Linked DNA regions of Homo sapiens: region 2 is linked to region 1. The links are contacts of gene promoters, found by promoter capture Hi-C in human tissues and cell types (Jung and others, 2019). All regions are on one chromosome and are shown on one strand. Each heading gives the region's core, a stretch centred on a gene start or on the middle of the fragment in contact. The rest is flanking DNA. Distances are from core to core; before and after follow the strand shown. Region 1 holds the start of SNED1 (sushi, nidogen and EGF like domains 1). Region 2 overlaps ANKMY1 (ankyrin repeat and MYND domain containing 1).

Evidence for each region. The method cuts DNA at HindIII sites, captures the fragments that hold promoters and counts their contacts. A contact is called where the count stands out against the background at its distance.
Region 2: a contact is called between a fragment that was not itself captured here and the fragment with the promoter of SNED1 in region 1, in 1 of the 25 tissues and cell types used here (H1 embryonic stem cells).

Annotation. Positions count from the first base shown.
Region 1 is chr2:240,994,527-241,000,843 of GRCh38, forward strand. It overlaps SNED1 (sushi, nidogen and EGF like domains 1), which reads left to right and starts at 4,092. Exons shown (of 32, transcript NM_001080437.3): 1 at 4,092-4,524. The coding sequence starts at 4,312. RefSeq lists a silencer at 3,724-4,143. The HindIII fragment of the contact is 20,006 bases long and covers 1,540-6,317 here.
Region 2 is chr2:240,546,700-240,552,595 of GRCh38, forward strand. The region is part of intron 4 of ANKMY1 (ankyrin repeat and MYND domain containing 1); the gene reads right to left. Among named protein-coding and RNA genes, the nearest start is that of ANKMY1, 8.3 kb to the right of the region's middle. RefSeq lists a silencer at 5,175-5,274. The HindIII fragment of the contact is 6,176 bases long and covers 510-5,896 here.

The DNA.
Region 1 (6,317 bases), core at 2,842-5,341:
GCCTCTGGCCAGGAAGCTCCGACGCTCTGACAGGCCCTCAGGTGCCTGGGTCCGGGGGCAGCACCCTTTGCAGGCATCCAGGGGTTGCAGACCAACACAGGGAGGGGACAAATGGGAGAGGAAGGCCCCCTGGGGAGGGGGCACTGGAGGAGGGGCCATGTTGAACGCAGACGGCGGCACCCAAGGACAGGCCAGCCCTCTGAAGCACCCCAGGTTGAGGGAAGCACAAGCTTTGGTTGGCTGAAGCCGGGGCAGGAAGCCGGCCAGCTGGAACCAAGGGCATTGTTTATCTGGGCTTCCAAAACATTCATACTTTTCAAATTAATTGCAAAAAATGTTAGCAGGGAAACATAGAAAGGAGAATGTAACCACCACCATAATCTGTGACCTGCAGAGCCCCGAGGTGACACCCAACTCTCCCTTTTTCTAGCACACGTGTGCTTAGGACGGTTGAGGCCATAGCGTGGATGCTACTCAGAGTACTATTTTTTAAAACTTTTGCTTGACACAATACCGTTAGAGTTTTCCCGAATCACTAAAAACGTCTCAGAGCATGGTTTTTTTGCTGCGGAAGCTCCGGGGCATCGGAGGACCCTGGGCCTGAGTGTCCCTCCACTGCTGGCTGTCCCTGCCATCCTGGAGCCCACAGAGAATGGGGCTCTGTCCTGTCTTGGGCACTCAGGAGATGGACAAGGCTCTCAACGGGAGGCAGGGTCTCGTCATCCCCAGGACAGGGAGAGCCGATGCCTGAGCCCACGCAGCAGTGAACATCCTGGGAAGGAAGTGTTGAACCCCAGTCCCATCGTTTCCCTAAGAGCAACCACAGAAGTCCCGTCATGGGAGTCAATGTGTGTGCGGCTCCGTGTGCATGAGAAGAGGAGGTACAGGGCAGGCTGCATGGCCCCCACACTCCCTCAGGGCCAACTGCACCAAGACCCCAACCAGCCACACAGGACAGTGACCAGGTGAGCAGGTGGAGCGGCCCTTGGTCCCTGTGACCTCCTGGCCTCATTCCGGAGCATGTGGAGGTTTACTTGGGATCAGCGCTTCTGGGGCAGGGGACCTGCACTCCACCTGCCACTTCTGGGAGAGAAGGAGAGAAAGTTAGGGTGGGCTACAGCCAGCCAGCCCCTGCCCCTGGCAGCTCAGGCCTGAACCCCCAGGATCTTCCACCCTGTGAAGACCAAACAGGCCCAGCCAACCAGGTGCAGGTTGGGGAGGGCACCCCCACCTTGGCCTGCGTGGAGCCCCGAGTCCTGGGGCATCCTGAGGGCAGCTCCCGGGGCACCCCATCTAAATTGCACACACGCTCAGGCCCTAAATTAAAATGTCACAGGCCGGTTGGGGAGGCTCGGGTTTCCTGGCCACAGAACATGAGCCTGCTTGATAAAACAATTTTGGTTTTGATAAATGTGGATTTTCTGTGGCAGAGACAAAGGCGCCCTTGAGTCCAGAGGGGAGCCTAAAACAGCACATTGCTGAAAAGTATTTCCTGATAATATTTTTAGCACCTGAGAAAAACATTTTTTTTTCTCTTTTTTGCCTGCAGAGTTGTGTTGTTTTTTTTTTGTTTTTTTTTTTTTTAATGAAATGTAATGCCCAGCAGCAGCGGGGCCTTTTGTTAACCCCCAGCTCCCCGGGCCCGGCTGAAAATCTGCACAGGGTGCAGGCCGAGGCTGGTCAGCAGGGTACAGGCCCGAGGAAGTGTGGCCTCTCTGGGCCATGAGCAGGGTCTGGCCCACTGCCAGCCACGCCCCAGGCCCATGAGCTCTGACTCTCTGGGACGAGGACGGGCCTGAGCGTTTCCAGCACTGCTCAGCGACCCCCGTGAGGCCCACCAGCCCACCCGCCTGAAGAAACAGGCCTCCACTCGGTGCAGCCACTGAGTGCCACTGTGTGCCCCAAGGTGCCCTGGGCGGCCCTGCCCCCAAGTTGACCCAAACCCAGCCCAGAAATGGGTTGTTACCCAGGTCCCTGTCTTGTGTGCTCAAGAGAAGGTCAGCAGTGGGGAGAAGGGCGCCTGGCCTGGGCAGCTGGCTGGGAGGCAGCACCCCAGGCTGGGCTCTGAGAGCAGAGCAGGAGCATGTGGTGGGAAGTGGATGGGTAGTAGGGACAGGGCAGGAGGTGGGCCAGCCCTAGTGGGGGTCAAAGCCTCACGTCCCCATGACAACACCTCTTCAGCGGAGAAATCCTGCCCTGGGGTTGGCACTGCCGCCTCCCACCTTCGCAAACTCACCGGAGGGGCCTTCCAGCCAGGCCCCAAATGCACTGAAAAGAGGGTAGAGGGCTGCCAGGTTTTTCTAGAAAAAAGACAAATAGAAAAGCGTTCTCCCTGATTCCCGCCACGGTGACGCCTGGCAGCTCTGTTCCCAACGCTGCTACATGGGGCCTTGTCCTGACTCCACGGCCTGTGCCAGCCAGAGGTGGGAGCAGCCCTCCCTGACCAGGGAGGCCAGGGCTGGGCTGAGGAAGGGGTTAAAGCATGTTCTTGAGGCCCCACGTATGGGCATATGCTGCCTCCGTGCATGTGAATAAGTATGCATGTGTGCGTGGACGTGTGTGCATGTGCGTGGAGACATGTCTCTCCTTGCCAGGCTCTCACCGAGAGCCGGCCTCAAGTAGGGATTCTACAGTTCCACGCCCTCTCTGGTGCCTCCCTCCAAAGACAGGAGGCCTTGACCTTTCTGGCCCTGGAACCATGGCTGTGCTGCTGTCCTGGAGCTCTGAAAGCTGGGACGGTGACCTAAGGGCTAACTGCGGGACAGAGCCCTTCCCCTCCCAGGCCCAGTTTGCCTCTCTGCAAACAGAATTGCCACCCCATGCAGGGTGGGAGAGGCGCCAGGGGCAAGCTTTCAGGAGGTGCCAGTGCAGGGTCAGCTCCTCCTTAACAATTCTGCACCCGGCCCTGACACCAAGTCTAAAGGGTCATGAACCTCTGAGTGAAAACACCAAGTGCAGGATCTGTGAGAACCGGCAACACCCAGTCACACGCAGAGAACCCTCCGCTGCTTCTTAAAAATAACATTGACTGTGCCTGGCTCTCACTGAAAAACAACACGTGCTCACTTGAGATATTTCAGAAGATACAAACGCAAAGACAAACAAAAAACCACCCAGCACCTCAGTGGTAGATGCAGTTACCATCAGCCCGGCCTTTCCTGCTTGTCTTCGAGGGGTGCACTCTTATCTTTGGGGGCCCCAGTGTGGCACGCAGCCAACACCACCCAACACCAGGATCTAAGAGAAGAGACCACGGTGGGCCGGGTGAGTTCCAGGAATCAGACCCTGCCATGGGCCTGGGGACATAGAGGTGGTCCCGGCTGAGGCCCTGAGGAAGGACAGACAGGCAGCCCAGGCCAGCAGCCCAAGAGACAGGGGGCAGGGCTGGCAGGCCACAGGGTGGGGACCCTGAATTCAAATACTGGGACTCAGAGTCCTGCCCCCACCTGCCAAGGCCGGTGTCATGCACGCACTTGCCCCCAGGGCCTGAGTGGGTCAGTCTTCCCCACGGAGGGTTTGCTTTACCCAGGGGTCGCCCCGAGGTCCCGAGCCTCCCAGGAATTTCTCCTGATGCGGCCACGCAGATGCAAACACTTTGTTCCATGCCTCCTAGTCTCCGGCCCGGGCTCTTCCTCACACAGACCCAGGCAGGGAGTGGGCTCCGGGGTTAGTCTGCCCCTGTGGCTGGAAGCCTGGCGTCCCCATGCTCAGGGCTGGGAAGGGGGCAGCACGGAACGGGTTCATTCAGGCACTGCCTGGCCAGGGTCCCCTCCCGCCCCCCGCGTGATGACACGCCTTCAGGGCGGGCCCAGCGTCTCAGGCCTTAGGGACACAGGTCTGTCCCAGGACGGCACTGAGGGCCCAGGCGCCTCCACCAGGGTAGGGACCCAGGGCGGAGCATGGCCCCACCACAGGGCGCGCGCCCGCAGAGCCCTCACCTTGCCTGTGCCCACGCCAGGGGACTGAGCTCCCCGCGCGCCCGCGCCCTCCCACGGGGCCTGGCGCTTTAAGAGACGCCCGATTTGCATGGCCCCGCCCCCCCGAGTGACCGCCGGGCTGGATATTTAAATCGTGGCCCCAGGGGCGGGGCTGGCCCCGAACGCGGTCCCGCCCGGCGCTTTCCTCTGCGGAGCTGCGGCGAGAGCGCGGCCCGGCCGAACGGGCGCGGGACGCGGAGCCCCCGACGGCGCGGCCAGCGGGCGCGCCCGCGCTCCCCGCACCCCGCCTGGCCCTGCCGGCCACCCCCGCGCGCAGCCTAGTCCCCCAGCGCCCTGCTCCGCCAGCGCCCCGTCCCGCCCGCACACCTCCGCGATGCGGCACGGCGTCGCCTGGGCGCTGCTGGTGGCCGCGGCCCTGGGGCTTGGGGCGCGCGGGGTGCGCGGCGCGGTGGCCCTTGCCGACTTCTACCCGTTCGGCGCCGAGCGCGGCGACGCCGTCACCCCCAAGCAGGACGACGGCGGCTCGGGGCTGCGGCCGCTCTCGGTGCCCTTCCCGTTCTTCGGTGCCGAGCACTCCGGACTCTACGTGAGTAACCCCCGGGCTCGCGGGGCGCCCGGGAGGGGAGGGAGCTGCGCCCCGGCCGCTGCCCGCCGGGCCCGGACTCCCGCCGCCGCCGCCAGCCACTTGGCACCGGGGCGGCCCGAGGTGGAATGAGGACAGCGCTTCCTCCTCGGCGGCCAAGGCCGGACAGCGGCCCGCGGGAGAGGCGCGCGGGCGGGGCGGGGGCGGCAGCCGCCGGGCACCGAGGCGGGGGCGAGTGGAGCGCGGCGCCCCGGCCCCTGCCAGACCTGCCGAGCGCGTCTTCCCGGCGCCTGATTCCCAGGGGAGAGCAGGGGTCCTGGTACTGCCCTGGTTTTCACACATGGCAATGTGGCCGTGGGCACGGGCTTCCCGGGCCTCAGTTTCCCAAGTGGGGCGCCGGGCCTGCGAAGGTTGCAGCCCCTCCTTGGGCCATTTCAGCCCCGCCCCCCGTGGACGCCAGTGCGGCCCAGAGCCAGGAGGCTGGACCCCTTGCCCAGGCGCTCAGGGCAGGGCCTGCTTCTTCGCTGACCCTCCTAGGCGGGCTAGCAACAGGCTTGCCCCTCCCTGCCGTCCTCTCCGCAGTCTGGGGGCTGGCCGCTCAGGCTCAGACTCTCCAAACAGGACTCCCAGTGGGACTCCTGGGGCCAGGGACTCATGACAGCAGGCTCAGCTCAGCTGAAGGAACAGGCCCGAGTGCCGGTTCTGTCTCCATGGCTCCCAGAGTGTGACCCCAGGCCAAGCCCTTATGGCAGCCCAGGGAATGAAATGCACCTGGTAACTGCATGGAGCACTCGCCCTGAGTAGGCCACGGTGCACTGGTACCTGGTGGTTCCCTGAAACACCCCAGATCATATCTAGAAAACTGCTGGGCCAGCCTCAAGTAGAGTCCCCTCCAGCTCCGTCACCACGGCCACCTCCACCATCAGCCCTCTCATACCCTCGCCCACCTCCAGCCTCAACCCACTGCCAGCCACATCGCCTCTGCCATCTGTGCTGCCCGGAGTAACACCACCTGTACTGCCAACTCCTCCGTCAACACCACCTCCTTCAACCCCACCACCAGCAGCACTGCCTCCACCACCACCTTCCCCATGGTCCCCAGCTTCCCGTCGTCACCATCCACATCCTCTGCATGGTTGTCATCATCCCTCCCCACCTCCATCCACAGGGCCTCCTCCACCACATGCCCTCTAGTGCGCCTCCCACCCCACAACTGCCAACACCATCCACAGCGCCCACTGCGTTTTCCACACCTGCTCAGGAAGGCCTCCCCACCTCGGTGGCAGCACTGGGTGACCTGACTGGTGGGAGGGGCAGCCATGCTGTCGGTGCTACCCCCTGAAAGTCCCTCTGGACCGGGACTTGGACAGAGGAACGGGACTGACTCCTGGAAGTACGAAGTGGGTAGGACAGAATGGTGCTCAGCGTTGGCCCGAGCTGGAGGAGGCCTGTCCACTTGAGGTATGGGACACTCACATTGGCACCATCCGAACAGAACTCAAGAGGCTCCTTAAGCATTTGGGCCAGGCTCAGCTTTCCCACTCACAGTCACAGGTGAAAATATTATTAAAATGGTTAACCCACTTAACAGCCTCACCAAAAACATCTGCCCTTGCCAGAGCAACTAGGGGAAACAGCTCTAACGTGGGAAGATCTGCTAGGAGAACTAGGGTTTCGTCAGAAATGAACCTTCTGGCTGCTAACAAAACATTTATCTCCATCGGAGCTTTTTCCTGAAACAAAGATATTATTTGAAAACCATTTGCCGATGTGGACACAGTGCCTGCAGTGCACTT
Region 2 (5,896 bases), core at 2,348-4,847, 450 kb before region 1:
GGGTTGCAATACTAGTCTCTGATAAAAGAGACTTTAAACCAACAAAGATCAAAAGAGACAAAGAAGGCCATTACATAATGGTAAAGGGATCAATTCGACAAGAAGAGCTAACTATCCTAAATATATATGCACCCAATACAGGAGCGCCCAGATTCATAAAGCAAGTCCTGAGTGACCTACAAAGAGACTTAGACTCCCACACATTAATAATGGGAGACTTTAACACCCCATTGTCAACATTAGACAGATCAATGAGACAGAAAGTCAACAAGGATACCCAGGAATTGAACTCAGCTCTGCACCAAGCAGACCTAATAGACACCTACAGAACTCTCCACCCCAAATCAACAGAATATACATTTTTTTCAGCACCACACCACACCTATTCCAAAATTGACCACATACTTGGAAGTAAAGCTCTCCTCAGCAAATGTAAAAGAACAGAAATTATAACAAACTATCCTCTCAGACCACAGTGCAATCAAACTAGAACTCAGTATTAAGAATCTCACTCAAAACCGCTCAACTACATGGAAACTGAACAACTTGCTCCTGAATGACTACTGGGTACATAACGAAATGAAGGCAGAAATAAAGATATTCTTTGAAACCAACGAGAACAAAGACATAACATACCAGAATCTCTGGGACGCATTCAAAGCAGCGTGTAGAGGGAAATTTATAGCACTAAATGCCCACAAGAGAAAGCAGGAAAGATCCAAAATTGACACCCTAACATCACAATTAAAAGAACTAGAAAAGCAAGAGCAAACACATTCAAAAGCTAGCAGAAGGCAAGAAATAACTAAAATCAGAGCAGAACTGAAGGAAATAGAGACACAAAAAACCCTTCAAAAAATTAATGAATCCAGGAGCTGGTTTTTTGAAAGGATCAACAAAATTGATAGACTGCTAGCAAGACTAATAAAGAAAAAAAGAGAGAAGAATCAAATAGATGCAATAAAAAATGATAAAGGGGATATCACCACCGATCCCACAGAAATACAAACTACCATCAGAGAATACTACAAACACCTCTACGCAAATAAACTAGAAAATCTAGAAGAAATGGATAAATTCCTCAACACATACACTCTCCCAAGACTAAACCAGGAAGAAGTTGAATCTCTGAATAGACCAATAACAGGAGCTGAAATTGTGGCAATAATCAATAGTTTACCAACCAAAAAGAGTCCAGGACCAGATGGATTCACAGCCGAATTCTACCAGAGGTACAAGGGGGAACTGGTACCATTCCTTCTGAAGCTATTCGAATCAATAAAAAAAGAGGGAATCCTCCCTAACTCATTTTATGAGGCCAGCATCATCCTGATACCAAAGCCGGGCAGAGACACAACCAAAAAAGAGAATTTTAGACCAATATCCTTGATGAACATTGATGCAAAAATCCTCAATAAAATACTGCCAAACCGAATCCAGCAGCACATCAAAAAGCTTATCCACCATGATCAAGTGGGCTTCATCCCTGGGATGCAAGGGTGGTTCAATATACGCAAATCAGTAAATGTAATCCAGCGTATAAACAGAACCAAAGACAAAAACCACATGATTATCTCACTAGATGCAGAAAAGACCTTTGACAAAATTCAACAACACTTCACGCTAAAAACTCTCAATAAATTAGGTATTGATGGGACGTATCTCAAAATAATAAGAGCTATCTATGACAAACCCACAGCCAGTATCATACTGAATGGGCAAAAACTGGAAGCATTCCCTTTGAAAACGGGCACAAGACAGGGATGCCCTCTCTCACCACTCCTATTCAACATAGTGTTGGAAGTTCTGGCCAGGGCAATTAGGCAGGAGAAGGAAATAAAGGGTATTCAATTAGGAAAAGAGGAAGCCAAATTGTCCCTGTTTGCAGACGACATGATTGTATATCTAGAAAACCCCATTGTCTCAGCCCAAAATCTCCTTAAGCTGATAAGCAACTTCAGCAAAGTCTCAGGATACAAAATCAATGTACAAAAATCAAAAGCATTCTTATACACCAACAACAGACAAACAGAGAGCCAAATCATGAGTGAACTCCCATTCACAATTGCTTCAAAGAGAATAAAATACCTAGGAATCCAACTTACAAGGGATGTGAAGGACCTCTTCAAGGAGAACTACAAACCACTGCTCAAGGAAATAAAAGAGGATACAAACAAATGGAAGAACATTCCATGCTCATTGGGAGGAAGAATCAATATCGTGAAAATGGCCATACTGCCCAAGGTAATTTACAGATTCAATGCCATCCCCATCAAGCTACCAATGACTTTCTTCACAAAATTGGAAAAAACTACTTTAAAGTTCATATGGAATCAAAAAAGAGCCCGCATCGCCAAGTCAATCCTAAGCCAAAAGAACAAAGCTGGAGGCATCACACTACCTGACTTCAAACTATACTACAAGGCTACAGTAACCAAAACAGCATGGGACTGGTACCAAAACAGAGATATAGATCAATGGAACAGAACAGAGCCCTCAGAAATAACGCCGCATATCTACAACTATCTGATCTTTGACAAACCTGAGAAAAACAAGCAATGGGGAAAGGATTCCCTATTTAATAAATGGTGCTGGGAAAACTGGCTAGCCATATGTAGAAAGCTGAAACTGGATCCCTTCCTTACACCTTATACAAAAATCAATTCAAGATGGATTAAAGACTTAAACGTTAGACCTAAAACCATAAAAACCCTAGAAGAAACCTAGGCATTACCATTCAGGACATAGGCATGGGCAACGACTTCATGTCTAAAACACCAAAAGCAATGGCAACAAAAGCCAAAATTGACAAATGGGATCTAATTAAATTAAAGAGCTTCTGCACAGCAAAAGAAACTACCATCAGAGTAAACAGGCAACCTACAAAATGGGAGAAAATTTTCACAACCTACTCATCTGACAAAGGGCTAATATCCAGAATCTACAATGAACTCAAAACAAATTTACAAGAAAAAAACAAACAACCCCATCAAAAAGTGGGTGAAGGACATGAACAGACACTTCTCAAAAGAAGACATTTATGCAGCCAAAAAACACATGAAAAAATGTTCACCATCACTGGCTATCAGAGAAATGCAAATCAAAACCACAATGAGATACCATCTCACACCAGTTAGAATGGCAATCATTAAAAAGTCAGGAAACAACAGGTGCTGGAGAGGATGTGGAGAAACAGGAACACTTTTACACTGTTGGTGGGACTGTAAACTAGTTCAACCATTGTGGAAGTCAGTGTGGCGATTCCTCAGGGATCTAGAACTAGAAATACCATTTGACCCAGCCATCCCATTACCGGGTATATACCCAAAGGACTATAAATCATGCTGCTATAAAGACACATGCACACGTATGTTTATTGTGGCATTATTCACAATAGCAAAGACTTGGAACCAACCCAAATGTCCAACAATGATAGACTGGATTAAGAAAATGTGGCATATATACACCATGGAATACTATGCAGCCATAAAAAATGAGTTCACATCCTTTGTAGGGACATGGATGAAATTGGAAATCATCATTCTCGGTAAACTATCGCAAGAACAAAAAACCAAACACCGCGTATTCTCACTCATAGGCGGGAATTGAACAACGAGAACACATGGACACAGGAAGGGGAACATCACACTCTGGGGACTGCTGTGGGGTGGGGGGAGGGGGGAGGGATAGCATTGGGAGATATACCTAATGCTAGATGACGAGTTAGTGGGTGCAGCATACCAGCATGGCACATGTATACATATGTAACTAACCTGCACATTGTGCACATGTACCCTGAAACTTAAAGTATAATAATAATAAATTTAAAAAAAAAGATCTTACTCTTGATGAAGGTAAATTTTTGATCTTAAATTAACTTTTTTTGGATATTAGGCTTCCTGAAGTCCAAGAAAGACATATTAGGCTTATTTGTTATATTAGAATTATACCGGAAGCATTGTAAATTGTGAGGTGGTATTTAACTTTCTTTGGGTTTTATTTATATACATGTTATTAATATGTGTTCCAGGATTTATGACATTCTTGAAATTCTAATATGTTTAAATATATGTTGTCAACAATAGTTAATGATTATTATGTTAAATTGTTGTATGACACAGAAATAACCAAATTTCCTTGTCATCTCTATCTTTTGACTATGGCTGCCTTAAGACTTTTGTCATCCACAATTGTTTTGCTTTGATCTTTCTCAAAAAAAGTGACTTGTAATCAGCTACCGTCCAGGGCTTGCTTCTTTGGGGGAGTTCCTGAAAAGGACTATTGAATTCAGGTGTCTGATAACTTTGGCGATTGTGCCACTGGATGAGAGAGAAAACTTCCACTGCACTAATTGGAAGGCTGATGTGTTCATAAACATTGCTCACCCAATATGACACAGGGCAGGAGCTGACTGCATGGACTCAGCTAACAGAACACTGGAATGCTTTTTATGTTTTTTTTTTTTTTGAAATATTGCTGATTCTTCTTTTGTCTTTCAGAGTCAGGATAATTTTTTTCTTTTGAGCTATTCATAACCTTGAAATATACTTTAAGTGTACTGAGTAGAGTATACATTTGTAAACAAAATTTGAGTCATATTTCTCTCTGCCTAATTTCTCCAGAATTTTTAAACTATTTGTGAATATTCTTAATTCATGGCAACGTGTTTGTTTGCATATGTTTAATAAGAATCTGTTTTATTTTATAATGGGACACAGCTGGGGGAACTGGTTATTTTCCCAAGGCTTTAACTGAAATGGCCTTGCGAGAGGTTCCGGCAAAGCCAGTTTAGGACAGCCTATGCGAACCACAGTTCTTGCTGTGCTTTGTGTGGGTGATCAGGGCACCAGGAAACTGAAGCTTATTTTGCAAGTAGGTTGTCCTACTGTTATTTGTCTTTGATGCAAGTGGGGGAATGGAAAGAGATTGTCTTTTAGAAGAAAACTCTATTTAGATTAACCTTTGATTCCTAAGTGACCACATGGTCACCCATGGTATGGAGCTGCCCACAACGCCCCTCCTCAGCATGGAGCAGCCAGAAAGACCCACAACCTGATTCCCCATGGTTGAGGAACTGATAAACAAAAAGGGGGGACTGAAACCAGCCCAGTAATCCTACAGAGAGTTGTTTCCAGATAAACATAGAAATTGACCCTTCTGGTCTTAAAGCTTGAAACTTAAATTTGTTTTATCTGAGTTTCTTCCTCAGGAAAGACCTTCAGGCCTCTCAAAAAGTATCAAAGAGCTGAAACTCCTCTCAGAAAGTATCAAAGAACTGAAACTCACCAGACCATGGCATTCAATGTGACTCCAGGCCCTTTGTTCACCGTGACTGCTTCCTCACCCCTCCCAAGTTCCTGCTTTCTCACACATTATTACATTTCTTCCTTGATATATAAACCCCTAGTTTTAGTCAGGGGGATGGATTTGAGATTAAGCTCCCATCTCTTCAGCTGCACCTCCAAATTACAGCCTTCTTCCTTGGCAATACTCATTGTCTCAGTGATGGGCTTTCTGTGCAGGAAGCGGAAAGATCTAGAGCGAACCCCTGGTGTTTCAGTAACAGCCACTCATATTGGCTCAGAATAAACCTCTTTAAAATATTTTGCAGAGTTTGTTTTTTTTCTGTTGACACCATTAATATGGCATTCTCACAAGGGCAAAATTCTAGGCCAAAATAGATCAGCCACAGTTTGTTGAAGGAGACATTTATTACAAAGGCCATGGCAATATTTTGAGGGTGATGGAACTGTTTGTATATCCTGACTACAGTAGTAGTTACACAACCCTGTAATTGTCAAAAATTTCAGAACTATATATTAAAATGGGTGAATTTTACTGTAAATTATACTGTAATAAAAGGGGGAAAGGCATCTGTATTTGAAAGACTAGGCAT